3 separate regions of the Homo sapiens genome follow, and all the other regions are linked to region 1. The links are contacts of gene promoters, found by promoter capture Hi-C in human tissues and cell types (Jung and others, 2019). All regions are on one chromosome and are shown on one strand. The core of a region is centred on a gene start or on the middle of the fragment in contact, and the rest is flanking DNA. Distances in the headings are between cores, read along the strand shown.

Evidence for each region. Contacts are between HindIII fragments. The study calls those that stand out against the background at their distance.
Region 2: a fragment that was not itself captured here is called in contact with the fragment with the promoter of OLFM4 in region 1 in 5 of the 25 tissues and cell types used here (bladder, dorsolateral prefrontal cortex, heart right ventricle and 2 more).
Region 3: a fragment that was not itself captured here is called in contact with the fragment with the promoter of OLFM4 in region 1 in 6 of the 25 tissues and cell types used here (H1 embryonic stem cells, mesenchymal stem cells, mesendoderm cells and 3 more).

What each region holds. Positions count from the first base shown.
Region 1 is chr13:53,027,161-53,030,637 of GRCh38, reverse strand. It overlaps OLFM4 (olfactomedin 4), which reads right to left and starts at 1,825. Exons shown (of 5, transcript NM_006418.5): 1 at 1,598-1,825. The coding sequence starts at 1,801. The HindIII fragment of the contact is 5,150 bases long and covers 1-3,343 here.
Region 2 is chr13:53,127,606-53,131,082 of GRCh38, reverse strand. No RefSeq gene overlaps it. Among named protein-coding and RNA genes, the nearest start is that of LINC01065, 23 kb to the left of the region's middle. The HindIII fragment of the contact is 6,212 bases long and covers 1-3,477 here.
Region 3 is chr13:52,950,586-52,954,062 of GRCh38, reverse strand. No RefSeq gene overlaps it. Among named protein-coding and RNA genes, the nearest start is that of OLFM4, 76 kb to the left of the region's middle. The HindIII fragment of the contact is 4,414 bases long and covers 1-3,477 here.

The DNA.
Region 1 (3,477 bases), core at 576-3,075:
ATTGTACCTACCTCTTAGGGTTAAATAAGATAATACAGGCCAGGTGCGGTGGCTCATGCCTGTAATCCCAGCACTTTGGGAGGCTGAGGCAGGCAGATCATGAGGTCAGGAGTTCGAGACCAGCCTGACCAACATGGTGAAACTCCATCTCTACTAAAAATACAAAAATTAGCCAGGCGTGGTGGCGGGTGCCTGTAATCCCAGCTACTCAGGAGGCTGAGGTGGGACAATCGCTTGAACCTGGTAGGCGGAGGTTGCAGTGAGCCGAGATCGTGCCACTGCACTCCAGCCTGGGTGACAGAATGAGACTCTGTCTCAAAAAACAAACAAACAACAACAACAACAAAAAGATATATATTATGTACTTAACCTAGTCCTGGCATTTATTAGACACACAGTAAATGTTATTGCTGCTGTTTCTATCTAGGCCCTATCCAAATCATTTGTTAATTATCACATTTTTATTATCTGTAATTTCTGATGGTCAAAATAAAACAAATAAAAGTCTTTTCCTCCCCCTTCTCCCATTTGCCCTTCCATTCAAGCATGATAATGTAAGCAGCTACCTGACCTGTGAGGAAAGATCCTAGAGGCTTAGAGAGAGAAGCTTTGGCCCAGATAAGACTCCCCCACCCCAAGTTATACCTTAGCAAAAATAGCCTAGGAGGTTTGCAGAGTGGGGTTCCCGCAGAAAGGCCCAGAGTGAAATGAATAACTGCTTCTTACCTCCTAACCTCTCATGCCCTCCAGCCCATTCTCCTTTCTTTAAAGGAGATCCAAAGAGGACTCATCCCCCACGGAACTGGCTTACTATGCCTTCAATGCACTTAGCCTAGCTGTACCAGCCTCGTTGTAATGCATGACTTTTGGTTTTGTTTGTTTGTTGCTACTGTTGTTTGGAGCTGGAAATGGTCCTGAAGATTCCCTGTAAAGAAGACTGCAAAGAGTGAACACTCCCCTAGGCGAATGTCCACTGGTAATAACACTTTGCTAAAGACCAGTAACTCCCCCCTTATTTCTGACACCCACCTCCTTTATAAACCAGGCCAAGAGAAATGGTCAGGGCTTCAACTAGGGCACTGCGGCTCTCACTCCCTCGAGGGCTACTGTTCACCATTCCGGGATCCTGCCAGGCAGCAAAACAACTGGACAAACTTCCCAGAGCTGCAACTCACAGAGTCTTTCCCTAACAGTTCCCATCTTGGACTATATATTAGAATCACCTGGGGAGAGGTTTTTTAAAATATTTGATTTGTATACATCTATGTAGGATTTTTTTAAGTACAGAACCCAGGCATCTGTACTTTTAGAGTCCCCCCGGCCACCCATTCTAATGTGCAGCCAGATTTGAGAATTCCTCTAAAGCATAGATATTCCCAAAAGTCCCAGCTGGAGAACTGCGATATCGTCTCTCTTGCTAACAATTTAATTATTTTACTGAGGCTTTAATTCATTTCCGGGGCACCTATAGTTAACAAAATGAGTCGTAAATCTTTTAGAGTGCCCAGGTCTAGCCATCCATGAAATTGTATTCAGGTACCCAAAAGCAAATGGAAGGGAATGAATGCAGCTCATTCAGATTCTGGGGCCTCCTCACCTGGGACACAGAACCTCCGCTGCCTAAGCTGCGGCTGGAGCTGGAGCCCGACCTGGAGCTGGAGCTGAAGCTGGAGCTGGAGTCAACACCTGGGAAAGAGCTGAAGCCGGGGCTGGGAATTGGAGGTCCCACATCCCCCAAATCCCCTGCAGCTTGGCCAAGGAAGAACAGAAGGGCTAGGAGAAATGAGAGGCCGGGCCTCATCTTGTCCTCTTAGCTGGAGCCGCTGGCTCTGCAGAGAGCCCAGGGGCTTCTTATAGTGCCCAGTGGTGATTTCCCCATGGCCAGCATGTAGGAAAAGAGGGAGTGGCCAGGGAACGTGTGAACTGCCCCAGGAGGTTCAGGACACCCAGGAATCTGAGTCATGGCCCACACCTTGTCAGTGAGGCCCACTCTGTGAGCTGCCCTTGGATCCAGATATCCCCTGCCAAACATTAACTCAAATGTGCTTTGTAAAGCCCAATATTTGGTTTCCCACTTGGTACTTCCTTGAAAGAGATGAGACCAAAGTAGTCTTTGTGGATGACACAGAGTTTGGAGGCTCCATGGAGGAAAAGCAACCCTCAGTCCTTTGCCTCACAGCACTTCTAGTGCTCTCCCCCATTTTACTGAATACTACTTTTCACAGACAGTTAGGGAACTTGCCTTAGGGACTGTGGCTCTCCTCCAGGAGCGACTGAGCTTCCCTCTTCAGTTCCTATTGCCCAAGTTGTCGTTGACCTGTTCCTTACAGTGACTGTTTCTAGACAAAGTTGTCTAACAACCCCACTCTGAAGGAAAGACCAGCAACGTTTTGTTCCCTGGCCAACCAGGTAGGACTCTGCCCTATCAAGTACTCACCACTGTATGCTTCATATAGGGAAGAGAAAACACCCAAATAAACAAAGGGATCCCGATGACCCAGTGCCCGCTCTCCCAGGCCAGGGCACTGCCTCAAACCCAGTCAAGGAGGACCCCAGGAGCAGTTTCTCTCTCCAGAAAACTTTGACCTCTATTGCCCCTGAGCTTCTTGTGAGCCAGCCAGGCATTCAAGATCTCAAGCTTATTCTTCATAAAACTGAGAAATAAGATGCATTTTCTCTTGCTCAGCAGCTCTGACCCTGGGCTCCAGGATCCATTTGCCCTGCTCAACATTTCACACACCTTTGTGACCTCTGCCTTCTTCCCTGGAGAAAGAAAAAGGTGTTAGTCTCGGTATTAAGACCCAGCTCTGGGCCGGGGATGCTGGCTCGCACCTGTAATCCCAGCACTTTGGGAGGCCAAGGTGGGAGGATGGCTTGAGCTCAAGAGTTGGAGACCATCCTGGGCAATGTGGTGAGACCCTGTCTCTACAAAAAATGAAAAAAATAGCCAAGTGTGGCGGTATGCACCTGTGGTCCCAGCTACTTGGGAAGCTGAGGTGGGAGGATCACCTGAGCCTGGGAGGTTGCGGCTGTAGTGAGCCATGTTCACACCACTGCACTGCAGCATGGGTGACAGAGTAAGGCTGTCTCAAAAGAACAAAAACAAACAAAAAAGCTGTGTCACAATGAGTCGGTGGCCTTGAGCATGTCACTTAGCCCCTCTAGGGTTGTAACAATTCCTAAATTGTTTGAATTAAATGAAATATTGTATGGGAAGTTGCTTATGACTTTTGACGTGCCATAAAAATGTCAGCTTTTTCATTGTTTGTTTAATTTCCTAAAGACTAGATCAATATGTAAGATTGCTGGGTTCAAAACAAGGAGAGAAGGTTCATGCCCCACTCCACCCCACCCCAGAAGCTCCACACAAACTCTCAGAATAAGCACAGTGCTAATGTGAGAAACAGGGTCTTAAACCCCTGGTACACTATTCAGAAACTGGGGTGGTGGGGAGGGGGAAGGGGAGACAGGAAAACC
Region 2 (3,477 bases), core at 603-3,102, 100 kb before region 1:
AATAATTGTCATAATACTTTGTAATGGTTATAAACACCAAATAAATGTTATATAGAGGTGAATCGCATAAAAATAGTAATATAGCAGTTTTCCCAGTTTTTCTTAATATTTAATAAATACTGCCTACACTTGGTGCATGAAGTTAAAGAGTATAATGACACCAATCTTTTAATATTCTTTTATACCTTATTTTTTAAACTTTAGAAAATATTTTGGGAATTAATGTTTCTTGTACTTAAAATGAATAATTTGCTTTATTTCACTTTTTAGGATTTTTTAAATTAAGTACAGTTAATTTTTTTATTTTAAATTGTGTTACAGAATATTCCAAATTCAGTTTTTCTGTATTTTTTTTCCTGTCTTTATTTCTATAGAGAGAGATACATAGGATGATATTGCCCTTTGTTAATGATAGTTATTTTTGTATAGTGGGATACGGAGTGACTTTTTTGCTTTCTTCTTTGTACCTTTCTTTGCTGCTTGACTTCTTTATAATGAGCTATATTGTTTTCATAAGTTCAGTAGAGTTATTCTTTATGAAAATATATATAGTAATTGAAAGAAGCTTAATATTTGGCATCTCTAATTTTTAAAAAGTAGTAAACACATATTATGCACCTCTTATGTCTTCTTTTTCCTTAAACCTTTCTACCTACTGACTTTCTTTCTTTTCTTAAAGACAGAGCCTCACTCTGTCACCCAGGCTGGAGTGCTAGAGTGCAGTGGCATGATCATAGCTCCCTGAAGCCTTGAGCTCCTGGTCCCAAGAGATCCTCTTGCCTCAGGTAGATCCTCTTGCCTCCCAAGTAGCTGAGACTACAAGTGTGTGCCACCATACCTGGCTAATTTTTTTTTAAGAGATGGGGTCTCGCTATGTTGCCCAGGCTGGTCTTAAACTCCTGGCCTCAGGCAATCTTCCTGCCTCAGCCTCCCAAAGTGCTGGGATTACAGGCATAAGCCACCAAACCTGGTGCTACCTACTGAATTCCAAGCTCTGTGATCCTAGAGGGTAAACATTAAGCTATGTTAAAACTGTAAGGGGCCCTCAGAAAAGCCACCTACCTTCTCACATTCCTTACCCCTCAGGGGATACTTCACATAATCAATTCTCAGGAAGGCTGCATAAGCCCCAGACAATTCTTTAGCTTTTACCTTCTAGAAAAAGGCTTTTTACATAATGTTAAAAGGTCGTTAATACTGTCCCCACACTAAACAACATCATTCATAATGCAAACAATTGTAGTAAATGGGAAGTTATCCTGTTATGCATATATAGCTTCTTTGGATGTTTGAAAAGTCTTGAGACCCCCAAAACCCCCTAAAAACAAAGATGCCAAGAAGGAAGATGGCAATTATTTTCTGTTTAATTTTTACCTACTCCAAAGTTCTCTGAACCAATCTGACCCTCTACATCAATCCCAAAACGACTATATGACTGTGACCCACACTCATTATTAGTACACTGAACCTATGTGCCCTGACAACTAATGCCATGTATAGACCATTGAAAGGCAAGGTGTGGAGAACCCAGACAAGCTAGAAGTGTTCAGCAGGTAATTCCTGAATAAATATGTCTAAAAATAGACAGCAAAAAGCCCAAATCTGTGAAATCAAAACTAGATGAACACCTGCCCAGAAAGATTCCAGAAGCTAGAACCAATGAAAAGGCAAGTCAGAATAGATGAACTAGTCAATCCAAGAGACCAAAGCAAGAAACTAAATCTAGCAGAGCTGAGACAGGATCAGCACCGAAACAGGTCTCCAGCATCCAGAAATGAGTTAAAGTCAGAGGAACCACGGTGGAAACAAGTAAGTCAAGGATGGGAGGGTGCACAGGCCCAGAGAGAGTTCTTCAGATGACTAACTACTGCTTTAGGAGTCTTCAACTGGTCCAGTCCAATCACACCTCCTTGATAAATGTTCCACAATTTATACAACTGACTTAGGAGCCCCTATAGCATGACTACAGTACCCTGGGGGTAACTTTATCAAAGCACCTGCCACAGCTTCACCTACCACAGTGAAATTGATTTACTTACCTCTCTCCGCTAAGAAACTGCAAGTCCCCTAAGAAGAGATATCCTATCTTATTTGACAGTGAATCTTCAGCATCTAAGATGGTGCTTAATATAAAGTTCAAAAAAAGTCCAGGTGAATGAATGAATGAATGAGTTTCTGCATCTAAAATTTAAATGCAAGAAACATGGCTACTAACAAATAAGAGTGAATGTCCTATAACAAAACTCATGCAACATTACTCCTTTTCTCCTGTCACCTAAAGTCTCAACTTTGCAACACATCATGCCATCTAATTAAGTGTTTTCAACCTTCTTTAACAGAAATCTCTATTCAAAATGATGAAACAATGAGGAAACGTTTTATTTCACATAACAAACTGTCCTAAGGGAAAGTGACTCCAAGGCCCCAGCAGCTTTTCATCTTTCTGCTCTATCACTCTCAGCAAGTCAGCTTGTCTTCAAGCCAGCCATCCTCATGGTCACAAGATGGCTGCCTCAGATGCAAACATGACAACTTCTAGCAGGAGAGTAGAGCATCTTTTCCTACAGGACTCTCAACACACACACATCTCTTTGCATCTCTTTTGCCTCTGCACAAATCTTAAAACAAGCCACTGACAAGAGAAATTAGATCACTGTGACTGGCTTAAAGAAGTCTACAACTGTGTGGGGGTGGATCACGTGAACAGAATTAACAAAGTGGGAAAAAGTGTTGGGTAGGTGGCCAACGGCTATTTCTACAATTTCATACAATGCCATTCACAACCTCTCTCTCATGCCCCTTGCCTCCATCCTCCTCTCCTACCATTCTTTCTATCTCAAACTCTGTATTCAGACCATACCTGTTGTTCCCTAAATATACCAGAAAGTTTCTGCTTGACCAGATCATTTTTTGTCTCTGTGCTTTTGTTCTGTGTTCTTAGCTTTGCCAGAAGTGCTCTTCCTCTCTGTCCAGTGGGCAAGCACCAATTCATTTTCAAACTCTCCACTGAAGCATCAATTTTCTGTAATGCCTTTCTTGACCTCAGGTAATTAACTTCCTTATTAATGTTCATTCCCCACACCTTGTCTACCACTTCTATTACAGCATCCCTCATACTGAAAAGTGCTCCTTTGTTTACATTTTCATCTTTCCCATTAGACTCAGAGCCCCTAGTGAGCAGGACTATGCTTTGTCCATCTTCGTATCCCCAGCCTCTAATTCAGTGCCATGTGTTTATAGAAATGTCATGTAGGCTTGATACATTGAGTGAAACTGAATGAGCTGAACTGAATCTGGCTGTGTGTAATATTTCCAACAGTTTCTCAAATGTAACTCTGTCTGCTGTGGGGTAATCTTTCTTTGAAAGAACAATCACTGGACAATTCAACAGGGACTGTGCTCTGAATTGTCCTCTACAGTTGAGGCTGGGGGAGGAACTCTGAACTGTCTAGAGTCCAGAAGTCATGGAGCTCAGAG
Region 3 (3,477 bases), core at 680-3,179, 77 kb after region 1:
GTGAACATGTGTCTTTATAGTAGAATGATTTATAATACTTTGGGCATATACCCAGTAATGGGATTGTTGGGTCAAATGGTATTTCTGGTCCTAGATCCTTGAGGAATCGACACAGTGTCTTCCACAATGGTTGAACTAATTTAAACTCCCACCAACAGTGTAAAAGCATTCCTACATCTCCACAGGCTCTGGGCAATTTTTAAGCGCTTTGTATGTAACTGCTCGTTTAATTCGTGAGGCAAGGGTTGTTATTATCCCCATTTTCTAGATGACAAAACAGACAGAGAGCTTAAGTGATTCTCCTTAGAGTCACACAGATGATTAAGAGTAATGCCAGGATTTGAACCCATGCAGTCTGCTCCAGAGCCCACACTCTGGATCAATATTTTGCTCATCCTGAAAGCTATTAATCAGACCATGAGCTATTAATCAGACCATCTCCCCAAAGAATCTGTGGCTTTTTCCAGAATGGAGAACTAGGGCCCAGGATGGGGTGAAGAGAGCAGAGAGGAGAGCCCACAGACATATGGGAAACCACGTCCTGGATATGTGGAAGGCATAGTCCTGGAGCCTTCTTAGAATTTCTTCTCTCTGTTACAGAGGTAGCTAATCAGACATGAGCAGAGCAGGACAGGGCTTCCCCCCACTCCCACTCCAACATTCCCCCAGGAATGTCAGGCAACCATCAGGTGATGTTCAGGAGGTTGTTAAGCTGTCTCTAAAATAATCATTGGTCACAGACAGTGCCAGGGAAAAGCAGTCTCCCAATACACAGGAACACCTGAAACTAGTGATCAACAGCTTCCTGATAGGACCTCAGGAGCTGGGTGAGTGGGCTCAAACATGCACATTAAGAAGCGAAGTGGGGGCATTTAACTGGTATATGACCTCCTAGGGACATTTGGCTGGTAAGGGAAGAATGCCTCAAGTGAGCATGTGCACAACTCCAGTAAACACACTGTGCATGCTCCCCTCCCAAGCACTAGCAGGCCACTATGCATGTGGACAGTCCACCCCAAGGGAAGAATCCGGGGAGGAGGGATGCAATCCTGGAAGCAGGCCAACATATGAAACCCCAAGTCAAAGAGCAAACTATGCACTTGATCTCCCAAGTCACTCACTTGGCCTTCTTCCAAGTGTACTTTCCTTCCTTTCATTCCTGCTCTAAAGCTTTTTAATAAACTTTCACTCCTGCTCTAAAACTTGCCTTAGTCTCTCCTTCTGCCTTATGCCTCTCAGTCGAATTCTTTCTTCTGACAAGGAAGAACTGAGGTTGCTGCAGACCCATATGGATTCGCTGCTGCTGCTAACATCACCTACCAGCCCCTCTCCACGTAAGCTCTTATTTCTTACCTTTTTTTTTCCCCTACTACCTGGAATTGGGCCCGACTTCATAGGTTAAGGACACAGTCCTCTACAAGACTGTCCTTTTATCAGATACTAGCTGCAAGTTCAGGGTACCCCCACTTCTGACCAGCTGGCTACAAATTCAAGGCCTCTCACTCACCACTCAGGTTCAAAAATTTGCTAGCATGACCCACAGTATTCAGGAAAGCACTTCACTTATTTATTTATTTTTTTAAGAGACAGAGTCTCACTCTGCTGCCCAGACTGGAGTGCAATGGTGAGATCTTGGCTCACTGCAACCTCCGTCTCCCCGGTTCAAGCAGTTCTCATGCCTCAGCCTCCCAGGTGGCTGGGATTACAGGTGTATGCCAACACGCCCAGTTAATATTTGTATTTTCAGTAGGGATGGGGTTTCACCATGTTGGCCAGGCTGGTCTCAAACTTCTGGCCTTAAGTTATCTCCCTGCTTCAGCCTCCCAAAGTGCTGGCATTTCAGGTGTGAGCCACCAAGCCCAGCCTTCACTTATGATTATAGTTTTATTATAGCAAAAAGACACAAATCAGAACCAGCCAAAGGCAGAGAAACATGAGGTCTGGGAGGGTCTCAAACCCAAAGCTTTGTCCTCCTAGAACATCTATGTGTGTCAATTTGTGTTCACACTGCCAAACAGGGAAGCTCACCCAAGCTTTGGTGACCAGACTTTTTTGGGGGTTTAATTACATAGGCATGATTAACTGAATCATAGCCATATGACTGAACTCATTTTTTCCCCCTCATCCCTTCCCAGAAGTTGAGCTAATACTGCTGACCCAAAACTCCAACTTTCTAATCACATGTTTGGTCTTTCTGGCATGGTCAGCCCACATCCTGGGTTATCTCCTTAGCATAAACTCTCTAGAGGCCCACCTTGAGTCACTTCATTACCATAAACTATCAGGTGTGGTCAAGGGAGCCTACTGTGAATAACAAAGACACTCTCTTAAAAAAAAATGAGAAATTCCAAAAGTTTAGAGACTACCTTCCTGGAACCAAAGATAGAGGTCAGCCATATTTTTTATGACACACCTATAATGCAGAATTTAGGGCAATAGACACCTGTCTACAAATCGTGTGATCACGTGGTGATAACAGAGCCAAAATGAGATGCCAGTGCTGATTCAATTTAGTGACTACTGTAGGGTCGATCTAATTGTTTAGGCCATCTTATCTAAATTAGAGGGATCATATAGCAATCCAATCAGTTTCTCAGGTATTAACTATCAGACAAGTGGGAAAATGATTCTAATCTGCTTTGATCCAGTTGTTTACGGTGTACACACTTTGCTAAGGTGTGAATTCCTGAGAGATTCTAACAATTAACCTTTGTCAGTGGAATCTCCCCAACTTCTCTAGAGAAGGAATCAGAGAATGAAGAAACCAGAAGGAATATCTGAAGTGAAGGAGTCCCATGCCCGCATTTTACAGTTAGGGAAACCATGAAAAAATTGCTTAGAGAGTCCAGCCAGCAGACAAACGATGTGATCCTGGGCAGCTCCCCGCCATCTGAGATTTATTCCTCAAAGTTTCCCCTACGGCTCCCATACTTAAAAAAGCCAATACACCTTGGAGATTGAACATATTAAGAAAGTTATGCCACCTCTTTGAGCCTCAGCTTCCTAATCTCTAAAGTGAGGGCAATGAGTGGGGGCTCAATACACTCAGAAGTATCCACCTCAAGGCTCACAGGTAACATAACTGATTTAAGCGGGTAGTTGTGAAATGATAAGGAATCATGGGGCTGCGGAGAAATAGAAAAAACATAACCCAAGGGAAGGCCTCCACATTTGAACTTAAAAATAAATCAAAATCCTTGGCGCAGGGTTTGTCATCTCTGGCCAGGATGGCCTGCCCCATCCGTCCCGGCTCTATGATTCTATGACTGTTTCCCTTAGCACACTGTTTGTCAGATGGACTTTCTCTTCAAGTCAGTCATGCTGAGGAAATCAAGGAAGTGGAATGACTTGCGAGGAAAAAAGAAGGGAAAGTTTTAAACTGGGGAATAGACAGTTTTGGCTAGGCAACTGCTAGAACATGAGTTGCCAAACAGGAAAAGGAGGGGCATGGAGAACAGAGTAGAAGACACTGTTTCT